Regions from separate parts of the Homo sapiens genome. Here regions 2 and 3 are each linked to region 1. Evidence: promoter capture Hi-C in 16 types of primary human blood cells and fetal thymus (Javierre and others, 2016). All regions are on one chromosome and are shown on one strand. The core of a region is centred on a gene start or on the middle of the fragment in contact, and the rest is flanking DNA. Distances in the headings are between cores, read along the strand shown. Region 1 holds the start of CCDC172 (coiled-coil domain containing 172). Region 2 overlaps ATRNL1 (attractin like 1). Region 3 overlaps ATRNL1 (attractin like 1).

Evidence for each region. The method cuts DNA at HindIII sites, captures the fragments that hold promoters and counts their contacts. A CHiCAGO score of 5 or more calls a contact.
Region 2: a contact is called between a fragment that was not itself captured here and the fragment with the promoter of CCDC172 in region 1, in 1 of 17 cell types (endothelial precursors). The highest score is 5.2, in endothelial precursors.
Region 3: a contact is called between a fragment that was not itself captured here and the fragment with the promoter of CCDC172 in region 1, in 1 of 17 cell types (endothelial precursors). The highest score is 5.3, in endothelial precursors.

Annotation. Positions count from the first base shown.
Region 1 is chr10:116,323,019-116,325,864 of GRCh38, reverse strand. It overlaps CCDC172 (coiled-coil domain containing 172), which reads right to left and starts at 1,417. Exons shown (of 9, transcript NM_198515.3): 1 at 1,252-1,417; 2 at 775-918; 3 at 477-562. The coding sequence starts at 853. The HindIII fragment of the contact is 6,159 bases long and covers 1-1,823 here.
Region 2 is chr10:115,726,655-115,729,477 of GRCh38, reverse strand. ATRNL1 (attractin like 1) reads right to left here. Exons shown (of 29, transcript NM_207303.4): 27 at 2,123-2,230. Among named protein-coding and RNA genes, the nearest start is that of SNORD158, 470 kb to the left of the region's middle. The HindIII fragment of the contact is 1,726 bases long and covers 696-2,421 here.
Region 3 is chr10:115,698,747-115,701,619 of GRCh38, reverse strand. The region is part of intron 26 of ATRNL1 (attractin like 1); the gene reads right to left. Among named protein-coding and RNA genes, the nearest start is that of SNORD158, 490 kb to the left of the region's middle. The HindIII fragment of the contact is 2,223 bases long and covers 301-2,523 here.

The DNA of each region.
Region 1 (2,846 bases), core at 168-2,667:
GAGAAACGCTAATGGAAAAGGTATACTTCGGACGCAAGGCATGTCTAAAATGTGGTAGAGACTTTTAAAACTAAAGGCAGGGGCTTGTTTGAAATTTACATGCAATTGTTATATCAACATAGCACACAAATTATTTATCATTCAAAATGTATATACTGCACCAACTACTTATTAAATAAGTGGAATAATGATTCTTCTAATGACATTGTGCTCTTTTAAAACCTTAACCATCCCACAAAATGGACAATGAATTCTTCATTACCTTAGTTTATTTAGGGCAAATTCGTCTTGGAATTGAAGGTGTCACGGGATTCAGAACTTTAAACATCACCAGGCAACATGGAACTAAAACAGCCAGCACAGAGTAACGTGCTTCCTACTTGAAGGACAACTGGTTAAACACTGAAATATCCCCCAAAAGTCAAGTTAAGGCAGGCTTTTTCAAGTGATAATTAGTATGCTTTACATTTCAATACCTTAGATTCCAGCTTGATTTTCTCTTCATTCAGCTCCTCCGTTGCTTTCTTAATTTTTTCACGACATCTGGTTATTTCCGACCTTACTGTAATAAAAATTAAATCTTTAAACACATCAATCTTTCTAAAGTCCCCATTTTGGTGGCGTTTGATAAGCCACCTTTCAGTTGTCTTTCCCTCAGCATGGCATGCAAGCTCCCCTAACGGCTCTGACCACTGCCTTCGGGATTTCCTTCTGCTCCAAGCACCCAGCATCAGAAGACAAAAGGCCCCATGCAAAGGACAGAAATACCCCGACCTTCTCGCATCAAACGGCGACTCTCCTCCGCCTGATGCTCGGTGAAGATGATGTGCTGAAACAGGGACTCCAAGCTCATCTCAGGGCCTGGCTCCTGCGATCCTTTTCTCGCCCTTAAATATTTTATAACCAACTCTGAGGATCCTGGAAAGCAGAATAAAGAAGATGGATTCTTCTAGAACCATTCCCAGATAGACCTGTCTCCAACCCTCTGTCGCCAGCCCAGCAAGAAGATGGAGCCCGACGCCAGACGGTGTCTGAGGGGTCTGAGGGTCTAGGGACGCTGGCCGCTGCTGCCCCTTCCTGCCCTCAGCCTTTGTTTCCCGTTACAGTTTACAAACCGGGCTTTTCTCCCTCACGCCCTAAGAGGGCAGTTTCAAGGTCTGCCTTTTTCCCTGGCGGAACCCCTGACTCAGGCCTCCGTCCCTCCCTGGGTTTGTTTTTCGCTTTGGTGGCAAATAAAAAGGCTGCCAAGACCTTGGCTTTTGAGGGCGTCTGGGCAGCAGCCATTTCTGTAGTCAGCCTTTCAATCCCAGTCCTCTCTCATTTTAGGGATAACGTCCTCAAGGTGCTCTGTCTTTCAGCAAAATGGTACGTGCCAACAAAACCCACGGCCAAAACCTTCCCTAAGGCTGGAGCCAGTGCTTCAGGTCGGGCCTTGCCTGTGAGAACTTAAACTACGGCGGCTCATTGGGACCATCCTGTGGGGGGCAGGTTTGCCCTGGGCATGTGAACCCCAAAGGTCTTAGGCCCAGTTGGAGTAGGGTTGCCCGGTATCCAAGGCGCAAACACTGAATATTATAAAGTACAAAGTAACTGTGATTCTAAATATAAACTTTTACAAAGTCTTATACTTTGACGATGGCAAAGACTGCTATAAATGTGCAATGTCTGACATTCCGCCTTAATCATTCCTTTGTAATCAGGGCATATCTTTTTTGTCTGCTTTAAAATTAATCATTGCCTTTTGTAATCAAGCTGCAGTAATATTAACACTTCAATATCTGCGCAATATGTGTCAGAGACCAAAGTGGTTGCTAATTAAAGCTTAAACATGAAAGGCACCTTTGGGACTTCTGCGTGGGATTTTTTAAATCAAAAATTAAAATATTTTTAGTTTTAGTAGGTTGAAATATTGACATTATAATAAACATTTGACTTTATTTCTGAATGTAAAATTGGCATTGGTTGAACTTTAAAAAGTAATTTGTTGTTAGAATGTATTTAAAATTAAGTAAAATAAACATTTGACTTTATGAATGTAAAATTGACATTGGTTGAACTTTAAAAAGTAATTTGTCAGAATGTACTTAAAATTAAGTAAAATAAGGTAAATGTTAATTCTGTCACATCACAATAGGCTTAATTAATATTTCATTAATGCTGCAGTCTAATCAGTTATACATTTTAACCTATTCCAAATTTCCGCCTTAATTTCCATCAAGCCATTGATGCATAAAACTTAATTCTTTGAGTTTATTTTAAAAGAATAAATACTGAAAAGTATACAAAGCAGAAAAGAACTGCCCATAATCATGTCATTTAGAAGTACATATTAACATTTTACCAATTCCCTTCAAGGTAACCCTCCTCACTCTTCATTTTTCCTTTATAAATTTGAAATTATTGTGAATCAGTAATAATAATAATTTGTTATTATTTGCCAGGCACTATTTTGAACACCCTATATCCTTTTGAGATAATTTTTGCTATCACCTTCATAGCGTAGTTGAGGAAACTGAGGCACGGAACAATTAAGTATATTGCCATAGTTGCGTACCTCATATAGGGTGGTGAGAACTGAAACCAAGAAATCTGGAATCAGAAGCCATGAATTTAATTTTGGAGTCTACTATTTTATCCTCTTATTACATCCCAGACATTTTACCATTTCATTAAAAACTCTTCATAAATATATATTTATAACTTCATAATCCTCCACCATAAAGAGGCATGTGTAAAATTTAGATATACCAAAATAAGTTTTACTCTTATCTGTTCAAGGGTGAAAACAAAGCTGAAATTGTGGTTTGAACAGTTTTCTTTGAGCACTTGTTTGGAGGCTTATAAAC
Region 2 (2,823 bases), core at 309-2,808, 600 kb after region 1:
AAGCCTTGGTAGAACAGTAGTTAATGTCAGTGTTAACATCAATAAAAAACAGAGTAAATGAAAAAATAAAAAAGCTAACAGTTTTTTCCAGAAAGTATAGTTGTAAAACAAAAGGATATAGCGAAATTGCAAATGAAATAAGGAATATCAGAAAATATGGACTAAAAGAAAGTAGGGCTAGACATTTTTTAACTCTACAAAATACAATTTAAGGTTAAAAATTCACAATGATAAAGAAAGAACCAACATTTGGAAAAAATAGAACATGAAGATATGATGATTATGAACACATGGGTACCTAACAATACATTATTGAACACTATTAACGTGCAACTGACAAACTATGGTGACATATGTCTGTGTCATATTTGTTCCTTGAGTTTGTGAATTTTCTAGTTCTTTATTTCTTTTCTTCTTTAGTCTATGTGTGCATTACTTACATTTTTTTTCTCTTGTTACTCGATTTTTAGCAGTATTTAAGAATGTTTTAAACAGATGGGGATAAAAAGAATTTATAATAGTCCAAAAATAGTCTAAGTTTTCTGTGTGTGAAAGTTTTTTATAAAAGTTATTTGAAACAAGGAACCAAAATGAAATTAGAGCACTTGCTGTAACTTTCATTTAATCATTCTTTTTTGTTATTTTTTCCCCAACAAATAGAAGATATACACACAAATTTCCTGATGTTCTAAGCTTCCATGGTAACCTGTGATCTAGAGTAGTAAAAAATCAAGTACACAAAATGTCTTAAAAATCATAGGGAAACATGCACCCAATATTTCATTTCCTCTAAAAACTGACCCTTTGAGTAGCATCCATGAGTTGTGATTTTGTCTTATTTTTTCAGAAAAAACAAAAATGCTACAGACAGAATCTATTATATGTATACCTAGGTTTTTGAATGATTCTATTTTTCCATTCTTTATTTTCCTTGACAAAAAGTAAAATCTGAAAATGGCAACATAAAATTAGTCAAATAAAGACATTTTTAAAAAAGAGAATAAAATGTTTCAATTCTAGAGTTTCTTAACCTTTCTACTTAAATATATCTTACCACATATAAAAGTAAATAAAAGTAATAAACATACAATTAAATTAGTATGCATCATAATGCTTTGAATAGTCATTAATCATAATTTGTGAATTTTGCATCCTTTTTTTTTTTTTTTTTTTTTTTTTGAGGCGGAGTCCCACTCTGTCTGTCGCCCAGGCTGGAGTGCAGTGGCAGGATCTCGGCTCACTGCAAGCTCCGCCTCCCGGGTTCACGCCATTCTTCTGCCTCAGTCTCCTGAGCAGCTGGGACCACAGGTGCCTGCCACCACGCCCGGCTAATTTTTTTTTTTTTTTTTCTTTTTTTTTTTTTTTTAGTAGAGACGGGGTTTCACCATGTTAGCCAGGATGGTCGCGATCTCCTGACCTCGTGATCTGCCCACCTTGGCCTCCCAAAGTGCTGGGATTGCAGGTGTGAGCCACCGCGCCCGGCCGAATTTTGCATCTTTAGGGATTATTATTTTCAGAAACCACTTCATGTATTACTTTTGGATTCTAATACCATATTTAGTTGCATATAATGATTTCTGTTTCATCATACTCTATTTCTGCCTTTGCAATAAAGGAATGTAATAATACAGCAATTAACCACAAATAAAAATATTCATTTTATATGTGAGAAACATTCACTTTTCAACATTCAAAAATGAAGCTATGTAATTAAAATGCAACTCATCTCCACTCGTACCTTTTCTAAGTAAACTTTGTTAATAAAGATAGATGTGAATTGTTAACTTGGTGCACAGAGTACTCCAAAGACTAAATATAGGCGCTTTGTTTCTTCGATCATACCTATATCTTAAATTCCCTCAGCTCCTCTGTCAGAGAAAGGCTGCCAGGTGAGCAGTCTGTCACTCCTGCCTAGGCTAATAGATTCTCCAGTGGCTTTGGTTACAGCTCATGTCATACTATTAAAACTATGTGCCTTGAAAATGGCATAACATATGTAGCTGAATCTTGTCAACTGTAGATAATCAGACTCTGTTTGGCTTCATAAGCAGATGTAGATTAGAGAAGCAATATAATAAATATGCAAAGCACAGTGGTCCTCTTTCAGCACCGCTGTTCCTACCTCTAATGGCCCTCGCAGAAACTCTGTTTGTTCAGCTCCCACTTCCAGAGCTACATCAACAGAAGCAAAGGGACGGCTGGCCATCTGCTGTCGTTCTCGAAGCAGTTGCTGGAGGGGGTTAAAAATGATTTATCTTAAAATAGGTTTAAAAGCACATGAAATTCAACAATATCTGGTTCCCTCTTTTAACAAATGGCATTGAAAAGTTAGGAATCATTTTATACAGATATCCATATCTAGAATACTAAAGATGAAAATTACTTTCTCCCCGTGGCCTTGGCTGTATGTCCACAGAAGCTTTAAATGTACGGTGCCTACAAATAACTTTTCCCCTGACCTCCATCCTGCAGGCCTAATACAATGTACTCAAAAGCACTCTGAAAGCCTCGGGTGAGAGGTGCTACTTGAGTAAAAAGTGTTATTACAGTGATGGCTATGCCAAATTTTCCTACTCAAAATAACTCAGATTTTTGTCTTAGCTGAAAAAGAAAAAAAAAAAACAGTAAAAATATTTAAGAAAAGATAATGAAAAGTTGTCAAAATGCATTAATAGAAATTAAAGGAACATATACCTGCCAAGACTAAGTTTTGTAAGTCATCAGAATCCCCTGTGAACTGCTATGGAACCAGAAGGAATTATTATTGGCAGTGTTTATAATTTTGTTCAAAGCCTCTGTTTATCATTCAAAATGAGGCATGAT
Region 3 (2,873 bases), core at 163-2,662, 620 kb after region 1:
AATATCATCTTTGATATTTCTGATTTTGGTTATTTGGATCTTCTTCAGTTTGTTTGCTAATCTACCTAGCAGTCTATCAATCTTATTTATACTTCCAAATAACCAACTTTTGGTTTTGTTGATTCTTTGTATGGATTTTTGTGTCTCAACTTTATTCAGCTATGCTCTGATTTCAGTTATTTCTTTTCTTCTTTAGCATTGGGGTTAGTTTTTGTTTTTCTAGTTCCTCTAGCTGTGATGTTAGATAATTAAATTGACATCTTTCTAATTTTTTGAGGTAGGTGTTTAGCACTATAAGCTTCCTCTGAATACTGCTTTTGCTGCATCCCAGAAATTTTGGTATGTTGTATCTATATTTTCACTTATTTCCAATAATTTTTTGATTCCTGCCTTAATTTTGTTGTTTATCCAAAAGTCAATTCAAGGGCAGGTTTTTAAATTTCCATGTAATTGTGTGGTTTTGAGAGATCTTATTGGTATTGATTTCTACTTTTATTCCAATGTGGATTGAGGGTATGGTTGTTATATTTTCAATTTCAAAAATTTATTGAGACTTGTTTTATGACCAAGCATGGGGTTGATCTTAGAGTATGTTTCATGTGCAGATGAGAAGAATGTATATTCTGTGGTTAACAGGTGTAGTTTTCTATAGATATCTTTTAGGTCCAAATGGTCAAGCATAGAATTTAAGCCCAGAAATTCTTTGTTAGTCTTCTGCCTTGATGATCTATCTAATGCTGTTAGTGGGGTGTTGCACTTCCCCTCTATTATTGTGTAGCTGTCTGTGTATTTTCATAGGTCTAGAAGGACTTGTTTTATAATTCTGGGTGCTCCAACGTTGAGTGCATATATATTTAGAATAGTTAAGTCTTTTTGTTGAATTGAACTCTTTATCAATATATAATGCCCTTCTTTGTCCTTCTTTACTGTTATTGGTTTAAAGCCTGAAACTATCAACAAAGTATAACAGACAACATACAGCATGGGAGAAAATATTCACAAGCTATGCAGCCAATAAAGGTCTAATATGCAGAATCTACAAGGAATTTAAACAATTCAACAAGGAAAAGTCAAATAACCCCAGTAAAAAGTGGGCAAAAGACATGAACAGACACTTCTCAAAAGAAGACATATAAGTGGCTAAAATACATATGAAAAAATGCTTCATATCACTCACCATCAGAGAAATGGAAATCAAAACCACAAAACCACAATGAGATACCATCTCACACCAGCCAGAATGCATATTTTTAAAAAGTCAAACAACAGTAGATGCTGGTGAGGCTGCAGAGAAAAAGAAACACTTACACAGTGTTGCTGGGAGTGTAAATTAGCTCAGCCACTGTGGAAAGCAGTTTGAAGATTTCTCAAAGAACTTAAAACAGAACTACAATTTGACCCAGCAATCCCATTACTGGGTATATATCCAAAAGAAATAAATCATTTAACCAAAAAAGGCACACACATTTGTATTTTTATTCCAGTACAATTCACAATGGTAAAGACATTGAGTCAACTTAAGTGTCCATCAATGACAGATGAATAAAGAAAATGTGGTACATATACACCATGGAATTCTACATAGCCATAAAAATGAATGAAATCTTGTCCTTTGCAGCAACATGGATGTAGCTGAAGGCCGTTATCCTAAGCAAATTAACATAGGAACAGAAAACCAAATACCACATGGTCTCATTTAAAAGTGGGAGTTAAACACTGAGCACTCATGGACATAATGATGACAGCAACAGACAGAGGAGGCTACTAGAGATGAGAGAGCAGGAGGAAAGGGCTGAGAAAGTAACTATGGGGTACTATGCTCACTACTTCGATGACGGGGTCAATGGTATCCCAAACCTCAGTCACGTAATGTACCCATGTAAGAAACCTGCATATGTATCCTTGAATCTAAAATAAAAGCTGCAATTATTTAAAATAATAAATGATAAATAAATAAATAAACAAACAAATAAATGTTCTCTGACTGTGAATGGTCCTTTATATCTTGCTTTTTTCACTTCAGCTTATGTTTCTAACATCCATTTATGTTTCTGTGTGAAGCTCTCATTTATTCATTTTACTCCCAATAATTTGCAGTGACACATATCAAGTTTTTAATTCTATGTGAGTTTGTTGTTGAACTCTTTATTCTGTTCTCTTGATCTAATTGCCTATCCTTACGCAAAAAATCACATTTCTTAATTACTCTAGTTTTATTAAAAAACAAAACAAAACTGAGTATCTTGAAAGGCAAGTCATCTAATCTTATACTTCCTGGTCAAGAGTGTCTTGGATATTCTTGATACTTTGCTTTTCCATGTAAATTTTAGAACTATCTTTCATGTTTTATAAAAACATGTTGCAATGGGAATTTTATTAAATCTATAGATCAATTTGATAACTTTACTACACTGAATCTTCTTAGATTCAGTAGAATTGATGACTTTACTAGATCTTTTTATCCATAAAGTAGCTATTCCTCTCCATTTGGTTGAGTCATCATTAATCCCTCTCAACAAAGCTTTATAAAACTTTACAATTTTATGACTTCATAATTTTCTACATAACAATCTTGAGCATCTGTTAAAATTATTCCTAAATAGCCATTTTTGTTGCTAATATAGATTAAAAAAATCATATTTACTATTTGTTGCTGGTGTATATAAATATGAAATTTCCTTTAGTGTATTTAGTTTATCTGGCTACTTTGTTAACTTTTAAATATTACTAAAATTTAATAACTTAATACAAAAAGCACTGAGACGAATATTGCTAGTAATGGCCATTTCTGGATAGCTGCTCTTTTTTTTGGTCTACTCACATTTCTTCTTCTTTTTTTTTTTGAGATGGAGTCTCGCTCTGTTGCCAGGCTG